Regions from separate parts of the Homo sapiens genome. Here region 1 is linked to region 2. Evidence: promoter capture Hi-C in 16 types of primary human blood cells and fetal thymus (Javierre and others, 2016). All regions are on one chromosome and are shown on one strand. The core of a region is centred on a gene start or on the middle of the fragment in contact, and the rest is flanking DNA. Distances in the headings are between cores, read along the strand shown. Region 1 overlaps ANKRD11 (ankyrin repeat domain containing 11). Region 2 holds the start of SPG7 (SPG7 matrix AAA peptidase subunit, paraplegin).

The links. Contacts are between HindIII fragments. The CHiCAGO score rates a contact against its expected background, and 5 or more counts as called.
Region 1: a contact is called between a fragment that was not itself captured here and the fragment with the promoter of SPG7 in region 2, in 2 of 17 cell types (endothelial precursors and M1 macrophages). The highest score is 5.5, in endothelial precursors.

The regions. Positions count from the first base shown.
Region 1 is chr16:89,391,539-89,396,908 of GRCh38, reverse strand. The region is part of intron 2 of ANKRD11 (ankyrin repeat domain containing 11); the gene reads left to right. All of the region lies in intron 1 of LOC128462377, which reads left to right. Among named protein-coding and RNA genes, the nearest start is that of ANKRD11, 96 kb to the left of the region's middle. RefSeq lists an enhancer at 1,037-1,975. The HindIII fragment of the contact is 1,236 bases long and covers 774-2,009 here.
Region 2 is chr16:89,505,248-89,510,274 of GRCh38, reverse strand. It overlaps SPG7 (SPG7 matrix AAA peptidase subunit, paraplegin), which reads right to left and starts at 1,872. Exons shown (of 17, transcript NM_003119.4): 1 at 1,675-1,872. The coding sequence starts at 1,857. It overlaps LOC101927863 (a long non-coding RNA gene), which reads left to right and starts at 1,955. Exons shown (of 5, transcript NR_188547.1): 1 at 1,955-2,038; 2 at 4,128-4,316. RefSeq lists silencers at 1,379-1,498, 1,529-2,088, 2,159-2,368, 2,489-2,558 and an enhancer at 4,378-4,427. The HindIII fragment of the contact is 2,077 bases long and covers 541-2,617 here.

The DNA.
Region 1 (5,370 bases), core at 142-2,641, 110 kb after region 2:
TTGAGACCAGCCTGACCAACATGGTGAAACCCCGTCTTTACTAAAAATATAAAAATTAGCCGGGTGTGGTGGTGGACACCTGTAGTCCCAGCTACTCGGGAGGCTGAGGCAGGAGAACGGCGTGAACCTGGGAGGCGGAGGTTGCAGTGAGCCAAGATGGCGCCATTGCACTCCAGCCTGGGCGACAGAGTAAAACTCCGTCCCAAAAACAACAGCAACAACAACAAATAGCAATTAGAGGAGCATTTCCTTAAAATTGTACAAACCCCATTAATGTGTGGCTTCATAGAAGACAGCAGGGTTCTCCTCGCTGTTCCTGCATCAGTCTGTGGTAAATATGTTGTTCTAGTTGAAGTATACAAAAAAAAAATCTAGTGGGAAAATGGAAGCATATTTTTAATAAATAGCTTTTTGATATAATTATGGAGATTTTCATTGATACGACACCAAAACCCAGCAGGTGTTTGTGCTGTGAGCGTTTCCAGCAGCAGGGGAGTCTCAGGGCTTCCCTTTGGTCTCTCTTGCGGCGAGTGCGGCTCCGTCGCGTGTGTGTGGGAGTGTGCCTGTGTGTCCACATCTGGAGGTGACCCAGGTCAGCACACAGTGTGCACCCAAGGGCCGATTGGGTGCCCGGGACTCGTGTGCATCTCCCGACGTGGATCCACTTGATTTTACTACATCAGAAAGCAGCACCTGTCTCTTCCAGGGAGACTTTTAGTTCTTCAGAAGCTGTCTGCTCTTGGAGTTTTCCAAAATTCTTATCTTTGAAAGCTTGAATTTTCACATTGACAACAAGTTGTTGAGGTGTTCTGGCTGAACTTGCAGCTGTCTTTCCTTCATTTTTTAGAAATGATCTGCCAGTACTCATGTCCGAACAACCAGAGTTTGCATGTCGGTCGGTCATTCTTTGACTGAAGATTGGTGCTTCCTGTCCAGAGGCCGCTGTGTCTGGTGTGCGGCAGCAGTGCTTTGTGCATACTTGTTTTGTCATGAAGGATATGCACAAGATGAATGCTGCGTGCTCGGGACGTAGTGCGTTGAAACAGTCTTGCCGCACCACCCCAGCAGTCCTCCAGTGAACTGGCTCATCAGTGCGGTGTCACCCAGCTGAGAAGGCATTGTTATTAAGCAGGTAGTTTTACACCTGGGAAGCAAGTGTACCAAGCTATTCAGTCTGTGTGCTGGGTGAGAAAATGTTGTTGAATGAATCAGGTCAGTCTGTGTGCTTATTGACAACTTTTCAAACATTTCACACCCTTAGAAGAGTCTGTATCACTTACCTCCCCTGATACCTATGCTTGCAAATGTGTGTGCAGTTTCAGAGGGTTCCAATGTGATGGCCCATTGGTCCCCTCCTGGGATTCTCATGGACAAGTAAGATTCGGTTCCCCGTTCGGGTGGGTCTGTGCGTCTGTTCCTGGGCGCATGCTCACAGAAGCAGCACGTGTCCCAGCCGTGGGCTGGCATCCCAGCGCTGTCTCCTCTCTTTGATCTTTGCATGCCAGTAGCAAGCGGACCATGTCCCCGCAGTGCAGGACTGGGCTCTTATGTAACAGCTTGCCGTCAGGGTTCCTTCCACACCGACGCTGCTCCCAGGATTACGGAGCTGGAAAGAGTCCAGCCCATTCCTCTGGCAGTACGCAGCCCTTCCCTGGGGCTCAGCCAGTTTACTTGGCTTGCATAATTCTTTCTGTTAAGACGCTGCCTTAAAATTGACCAAGCCTCTAACTTTTTAGACCAGGAGTCTCTTGGATCGTTTGAGTGGTGGTGTTGCCTGTTCTTGGCCCTCTTTCATCTTGTCCTGTGCTTCAGCCTGGTCACTTGGTTTAATAATTTGTCTTTGTTTTTCCAAATCCTGCAGAACTTTTAAGATGATCTGGATTGCAGTGACTTAAAATCATACCGTGATGTATTTGCTGGTTTGGAGATCTTTTTAACAGGGGGTTCTCTCATCAGCTCTAAGTAGCCTTGGAAAAACTGTCGCCTCTGAATTGGCTGCAAACAAAGCTTTAGGCTTTCCAACAGTGCTACAGCCAACCTGCCTTAATTGGAAATGAGGAGTCTGGACGTTTGAAAAATAACTCAATAACCTCATGTGTGTAACTCTCGGGGCCATATATTATGGAGATGGCTGTGTGTAATTTTACAGCATCCTTGATGGAGCCTTTGTCATAAAACACGACTCCTGTATATGAAAGCAGTCTTCGCAGGTTTTATTGAGACGAGGAGTGGAAAATACACTCGTTTTTCCACAAAAGGTTGTTTGTTTTTTTTTTTTTGGAGACAGAGTTTTGCTTTTGTCGCCCAGGCTGGAGTGCAGTGGTGCGATACTGGCTCACTGCAACCTCCGCCTCCTGGGTTCAAGCGATTCTCCTGCCTCAGCCTCCCGAGTAGCTGGGATTACAGGTGCCTGCCACCACGCACAGCTAATTTTTGTATTTTAATAGAGACAGGGTTTCACCATGTTGGCCAGTCTGGTCTTGAACTCCCGACCTCAGGTGATCTGCCCGCCTTGGCCTCCCAAAGTGCTGGGATTACGGGCGGGAGCCACTGTGCCTGGCCCACGAGCTGTTTTTCTGATGAGAAGTTTCCTGATGAGTGAGAGCAGTGTGGCAGGTGTGGAGGAGAGGCGGACGGCTGCTTTCCAGGGACATGGGAGACCACTGTGGAACTGCAGTCCCAGAACGTGCCCATGTCGTGGAGGGAAGCAGGTCAGAGGCTCCTGCCACCTGCCCGTTGACCTCAGGAGGACATTGTGCTTGCAGCAGCTGAGTGGCCTGGGAAGCCTGCCTGGAACCTGGGACTGTGATGGGTGGAGTCTCCAGGAGGGCTAGGGAGGCGGGGAGGAGCACCCTGTGAGCTGCAGGCACCGCTGTGTTGCAGTCAGCAAACACTGGGGTCTGGGAACCCACTTTCATGTTTGGCACCTAGTGGTTTGAGCTTCACTTATTCGTAGCCCTCACAAGTAAACTAGTCTCTATTACAAGCACTTTCTTCGTGACTTTTTGGCTTTTGTTTTTTGACACATTTTCCTCATGCAGATCAGCATGATTATTCCCACTGTCTGACATGTCTCCTCCTATTCATTAAATACTTAGAGCCTGTTTCATGCGAGATGCCATGCAGAGCTCTGCCAGATTCCAGAATGAAGGGCAATAGGCCCAGCTGGGATAGTTCCTGCATGTTTCCATCGGCCCGGCTGCTTCCCCTTCTAACCCTTACAAATCCTCTGAGGTGGACGTGATTACTCCACCTAAGAGGAAACTAGGCCGGGCGCAGTGGCTTCCTCCTGTAATCCCACCACTTTGGGAGGCTGAGGCGGGCAAATCACTCTGAGGTCGGGAGTTCGAGACCAGCCTGGGCAACATGGTGAAACCCCGTCTCTATTTATTAAAAATACAAAAAAAAAAAAAAAAAAGCAGCTGGATATGGTGGCACACGCCTGTAATCCCAGCTACATGGGGGACTGAGGTGGGAGAATTGCTTGAACTCAGGAGGCAGAGGTTGCAGTGAGCCAATATTGCGCCACTGTACTCCACCTGCCTGAGTGGTCTCGCACTACAGAGCAAGCCTCCGTCTCAAAAAAAAAAAAAATAAAAATAAAAAAAGTAAAAAAAAGAGGAAACTAAAGTTTAATGTGTACAGTGGACTCTCTTGGTCCCAGGGTGGGAGCCATGTCACCTGTGGGAACAGGTGAATGAGGCTGGCGTCGTGCTCTCAAGGTATTTATGATGTAGCAAGAAGGTGCCAGGTCCTGAGGGAGACTTCCAGAGGCTCCTGTGAGAGAAGGTATGCAGGTGAAGAAGAGGGAGGGAGACCGTGTTTCCTGGGGACTGGGCTTGCCGGAGGCTCCACTGAGGGTTAGCATTTGCATAGGCCTTGAATAAGAAGTAGAATGTGAAGAAATAGGCTGGAGTTTAGAAAAGGAATTTTTGGGGAAACAGAAAGGGCCTTGGTGACTGTAGATCACTCACTCATTTCAGATGCAGGCAGGTCCCAAGGTGGTGATTAGACACAAGTTCACTCTCAAAGGTGCTTTCTTATGTAGTTGATGGAGTCGGTTAAATGTATTCCCAGTTTTCTTTTTTCCTAACCTAGTGTTTAGAGAAAAGCAGCCTTGGGGGACTTCCTATCCACGAGTTTGCTTAAGTGCAGGTTCTGGGTGTGCCGGACATCCTAGATACCGTTGTCTGTGAACTCAACCATGTTGATTGGGTCTGCTCTTGTAGGCTGACATCCGAAGTGCATTACAGATGCTGAGTTGATCGTTAACTTCTGTAGCTGGGATCTGAGGGACAACCAAGACAGGTCTGCTTCAACACATCACGACCATGTTCTTGAACTGCATGGACCCTGGAGCATCTCAGCGTGGCATCACAGTGCTGCTCATGGAAAACATGAACTGGCAGACCCATTGAGACATTTTCAAAACATAAACATTGTTTTTCTTATTTCCATCGTTTACCCATTGTAGAAAATGTAAGAAAACATGAAAAGGGTGAAAATCTAACTTAAACTCCCTTATACAGGTAATGAATTTTAGCTTCTTGTGATCCTTCAGGAATGGGCCATCAGTGTGTTTGAAATGCTTGCTCCCTGGTGCCGTAAAGAAATAGCACTTGAACGTAAATTTAATTTCCTCAGCAAGGCCATTTTTTATACCTTCTGCAGAAAGGGTACACTCGCCTGCAGTTTTGCCACGAGAGTACACCGAATGAAGGAGACCAGGGTCATTTATAACCTGACGCTGTGTCCGGTTTTTTTATACCAACTGCTGTGTCCGGTTTCCATTGGCTGGAACGGGACCTCACATTCTGTATTTGTCCCGATTGGCTAGCAACTTAGAACTTTTTAAAAGAGGCAAAGGCAGAGGAGAACAAAGGAAGGAGGAAGTAATTTGTGGAATGCTGAGAAAGGTAAAAACACCTTCAACTAAGGAAGAGGAACAGGCCGTGACCTAATGCTTGCTTCGACCAGTATAAGCATGCCAGGGCAGATATTTAGGCTAAATTGTGGGAGCTAAGAACATAAAGTACATTGATTTCTTTATTAAGGCTAGCAGATATTTAAGAATGTCAGTACAGGTCTTTGAATAAATGTTGCTTTTAAGAGAAGTTACTATTTATTTTTAGTTAGATGGGGAGGAAAGTCTTTGAAGAGGAACCTCTGCTTTACTTCTTACAAGTGTGCTTACTGATTCTCTGTCAGCTTGTCCTCTCAGTGATTGAGAACAGGGTATTAAAATCATTACTGAGTTTGTGGTTTTGTGTATCTGTCTGTGTAGCTTGACTTCATGTATTTCTAAGCTCAGTTAGTAGGGGTTCTGAGGGGGAAAACTCAGATTTTTCCTTTGCTCTCATGCCACAGCGA
Region 2 (5,027 bases), core at 623-3,122:
GGCCAGGCGTGGTGGCTCACGGCTGTAATCCCAACACTTTGGGAGGCTGAGGCGGGTGGATCACATGAAGTCAGGAGTTTGAGACCAGCCTGGCCAACATGGTGAAACCTCATCTCTACTAAAAATACAAAAATTAGCCGGGCGTGGTGGTGCACACCTGTAATCTCAGCTACTCAGGAAGCTGAGGCAGGAGAATCGCTTGAACCCGGGAGGCAGAGGTTGCAGTAAGCCGAGATAGCACCACTGCACTCCAGGCTGGGCAACAAAGGGAAACTCCATCTCAAAAAACAAACAAATAAACAAACAAAAAATCACGATAGTGGCCAGGCACGGTGGCTCATGTCTGTAATCCCAGCACTTTGGGAGGCTGAGGTGGGAGGATTGCTTGGGCCCAGGAGGCAGAGGCTTCAGGGAGCCATGATCAGGCCACTGCACTCCAGCCTGGGCGACACAGCGAGATTGTCACAAAAAAAAAAAAAAAAAAAAAAGAAGAAAACAAAACACAGAAGTACATTGGCTGCTATCCCATGGCCTGAAGCTTCTGCAGGAGAAAGGGAGCAGCCCAGCTCTCCAAAGGCCACAGTGGCTGCCCAGACACGGGGCTCCTGCTGTCACCAGAGAGTGGCTCCTTGTAGAACATTTCCAGGTACCAAACCAGTTAACAAGTATATACTTTCAGAGTTCTCCTTTCAAGATAAACATTTTCCCATTTAAATATGTTTTATGGCCGGGCGCGGTGGCTCACGCCCTGTAATCCCAGCACTTTGGGAGGCCGAGGCAGGCGGATCACAAGGTCAAGAGATGGAGACCATCCTGGCCAACATGGTGAAACCCCGTCTCTACTAAAAATACAAAAATTAGCTGGGTGTGGTGGCGCGCACCCGTAATCCCAGCTACTCAGGAGGCTGAGGCAGGAGAATCGCTTGAACCCGGGAGGCGGAGGTTGCAGTGAGCCAAGACCATTGCACTCCAGCCTGGGCGACAGAGCGAGATCTCTGTCTCAAAAATAACCGAAAAAACAACAACCTAAAAGGTGTGGGCTAAGCTCCTAGGCGAGGGCTAGGAGAAAAAAACATCAGCCCAAAAGCTGAAGGACACAAGGTCTGGTTTTCGGGAGGAGATGCTATCCTATCCTTAGCAGAACCTGAAACAAGGCCGCACTACAGGGGGTGCTCAATGACTGTATCAATAACGTGCCGAGCTACATGACAACAGCAAAATGCAGCTACAGGGTATTTTGCGGACACAGAAACGTTCTGGGCCCCCTACTCGGCAATAACCACCCTAACTGGAAGGCGCTGGAATTCCTGGTGACGGAATCGATCCACAGGCGTGGACTGTAAATTAGTGCTACGCCGGAAACCGTTACTGGATTCCACTTTAAAAGGCGAGGAAGACGGGCGGAGAACATCCACACACAACAGACGGGTTGGGAAAGTCCACGCCGAGGACTGCGCGGATCCCAGCCCTGCCTCTTCCCGGCCCGCCCAGCGCCCACGATCCAGGGCCCCAACAGTCGCTCCGCGCCGAGGTCCACAGCTGGGGGATCCGCGGGCCCACAGGCGCAGGCTCCCCCGCCGCAGGGGCCAGGCGGCCTCCGACCCGCCCCGCCGGGCTGGGCCTTACAGAGCAGAGCCGGGCGGGAGGTGGGGCCCGGACTCCGCGGGGATTTACCTGCAGAGCTCGGCCTCCAGCCTCGGCGAGGTCCCCCGGAGGCCTGCTGGCCATGTACGGCCGCCCCCTCCCGGGCCTGGCGGGGAACCCTGGACTCCAGGCCGGGCCTGGGCCCCACAGCGGCCGAGGACCCGGGCCTGGACCCCGGCGGAGGGCACGGAGCAGCAGCAGCAGCACGGCCATGTTGGCCTGAAAGCCGCGCCTGCGTGATCCGCGGGGCGCTACACGGCGCCTGCGCGGCGGGGTGGGCGGGGTCTGACGTGGCGCCTGCGCGGTCCCCACAGCTGCGCCCCGCCGCGCCCGGGTGCCGCTTGCCGCACCCCCGAGCCTGAGCCCGTCTACCTCGTGGCTGCCTGAGGCCCGGGTATGGGGGCGCGCGTCTGCGAGGAGGTCGCGGGTGCCCTGGTTTTTTTGAAGCCGGCCTTGTATTCCCAGGGCCTGGCGGGTGAATAACCGGCCGGGTCGTGGCTGCGTGGTCGTGCTCCGCCCGCGCCGAGGGGCCTCACGCCCGGGCAGCCTGCGTCACCCGCAGGGTTCGGTCACAGGCGAGGGCGGATGGTGCGGGCCGGAATCCCGCCTGCGAGTAGAGGCCCGCGCTCAGGAGGGCGGCGCCGGAGGCCTCGGGTCGGGAGGGCCCCTTCGGGTGTGAGGAGCGCAGGAAGGGGGCGGTTTTCCTGCGTCTTGAGCCGCCCGAGGACGAGGACTGAAGTTGCAGCCGCCGCAGGGAGGGCAGCCCCGGAGGAGGAGGGTCGTGAGGGAGGGAGCGCGCAGTGCGGCGCGGCCTGGCAGGCGTCTGCAGAGCTCGTCCCGCACACCTCTGACTTCGGAGCGCTCCGTCCTGTGCCTTCGGACTGGCTCACCTCGGAGGCGCTTCGAGCCTCGGTCCTGCCCCGGCCGCTGCGCGAGCCCATCGTAGGAAGCGGGGAGGCGCCGTCTGGAAGCTTAGGAAGAGGCTCTGTTCTCTTCAGGGTCCGCCCTCCGGGCCCGGGCAGGGTCCCTCGTGGGCTCCCAGGCGCGCGGGGTCCTCCGCCACCCCGACCCCTTCCTCCGTCCGCCTTAGGTCTAGAGCTGACGCCAAGAGCTGGAAAGCTTGTTGAGTAGGAAAAGCAAAGACTAGATGGTCTGTCACAGAGGTAGGATGAGGGTGACCTATTTATTTTTATGCTTTTCTGTACTCCGCAAATTCGTAACAGTGAATGCCAGTGACGACAGCCAACATCACCGAGTGCCTAGCTCCGTGTCGAACACCCATGTAATATTCACAACCCTGTGCAGCGAATACAATACCTCTATTTTACATGTAAAGAAAGATTCAGAAGTATTAAAAGTAACCTGCCTAGGATTACAGCTCTGAAGTTAGGGCAGAATTTCAAGGCCGGTCTGGTTTGTTTCTGGACCTGCACTCACTCCACCACTACAGACGAGGTTGCAAAGCCAGTGGGCTGCGTGTAATCCTCCCTCTTCCTCAGCCCCGAGACGCTCAGGAAAGTGTTTTCAGTTATCGTGGTTATCCGCCCTCAGCCCTCCAGTGGGCCGGGTGCCTCGGCAGAGGTGCTCGGGGCTGGGGAGGTGTTCTGTTGGTTTGTGGAGAGGACCTTCCCCTACACCCAGGGCTGACACTGATTTTCACAACTGAACCGCTTTTCCTTTTGCTTCTTATTGTACAGTCAGCCTTCGCAGTGAATCCAACCTTGCCGTTTCCTCCTCCACTATTTTTTCTTTCCCTGATTGAAAGACACCAGGTGGGCCGGGCGCGGTGCCCTCCCCCTCCCTCTCCCTGCCCTTCATCCCAGCACTTTGGGAGGCCAAGGCGGGCGGACCACGAGGTCAGGAGATCGAGACCATCCTGGCTAACACGGCGAAACCCCGTCTCTACTAAAAATACGAAAAATTAGCCGGGCGCTGTGGCGGGCGCCTGTAGTCCCAGCTACTCGGGAGGCTGAGGCAGGAGAATGGCGTGAACCCGGGAGGCGGAGCTTGCAGTGAGCCGAGATCCCGCCACTGCACTCCAGCCTGGGCGACAGAGCGAGACTCCATCTCAAAAAAAAAAAAAAAGGTCACAAATCCTCTGAACGCACAGGCATAAAGGGTTGTGGGGCTCGGTCACTTCCTAGAACACAAAAAACCCTTTCGGAAGTTTGGTTGGGTTGGTCACGGGACAAGGCTGGAGAGAGGGTGAGGGCACACATTTGGATGTGTTTGGGAGGAGTTTAAGTGTAGTCCTATTAATATTGTTTGAGATAAGTTAAAATTGTTTCCTGGCAATTCATCAGAAGCAGTGTGGGGTGTTGGCAAGAGGCCTCCTCTGGGGAAAGAACACTGGGTTCTGTCTCCTCTGGCCTATGACCTTAAGCAAGTTATTAGCTTCCTCAAGCCTCAATCTTCTCAGCGGTAAAATGGGGATGATAATTATCTGCAAAGCAAGGCTAATATCAGCCTTGGGTTTCCCACAGGGTGGTTATGAAGATAAAATGCAATAAATGTGTGTGAGGGCAACTGACGAGCCAGGAAGCCTTGGCATCCAGAGTTATTACTGGGACGTCATGGGAAATGAGGATATGGGAACAGAGTATTTATGCATTTATTCAAACTCATCTCTAACAACCGTGCTTTGAAGGCTGGCTGCATCCCAGGCCCTACAGGTGAACCGTGACTCTCAGCTCTCAGCTTCAGCCCCTGCTGTAGTGGCGGCAGCAGCAGAGGCTCACGTAGCCTCAAGCAGTAGGGGTTTTGTTTAAGGATTCGGGTGCCCCATGGTTTGGGGGTTTTGTTTTTATTTTGCTGCATGATTTGGATTCAAGAAGAAGGATCTGTAGGACAGTGGGCTCCCGGGTCTGCCTTTGCCCTCATAGCCTGCAGCAGAGCAGGACGTTCGCTTTCCCTTCTCCGCCTGTGTGTTCTTCCTGCACTGCCTAACTGCTGCTTGCTCATTTGTGCTTCCGTGTCACCCCTCCTCAGCCCTCTGAACTCTGCACGTCAGGACTTGGCACACTTCCTAACTGCTGCTTACTCATTTGTACTTCCGCGTCACCCCTCCTCAGCCCTCTGAACTCTGCGCTTGGACTTGGTGTGACTTCCCTTCCCCGCCTATTCTCTAGAGGCAGTCTCTTGGTGACTCCTGGTTTGGGTCAGGGCACGCCTTAGGTCTCTGGATGGCTACCAACCCCAGGTTCCCTCAGCTCTAGCCCCATAAGAGAGGAGGCCTCAGGAGCGCCTAGGGCAGCCCTTTCAGCCTGGGCTGTGGGAAGGGAAGGTGGACAGAGAGGAGACCCCATGCCTTTGTTCCCTGTTGATGCAGAAGCATTCTAGGCTCTGTCCCTTATTCCTGCTGTGGGCTGAAGCTTCAGGCAAGG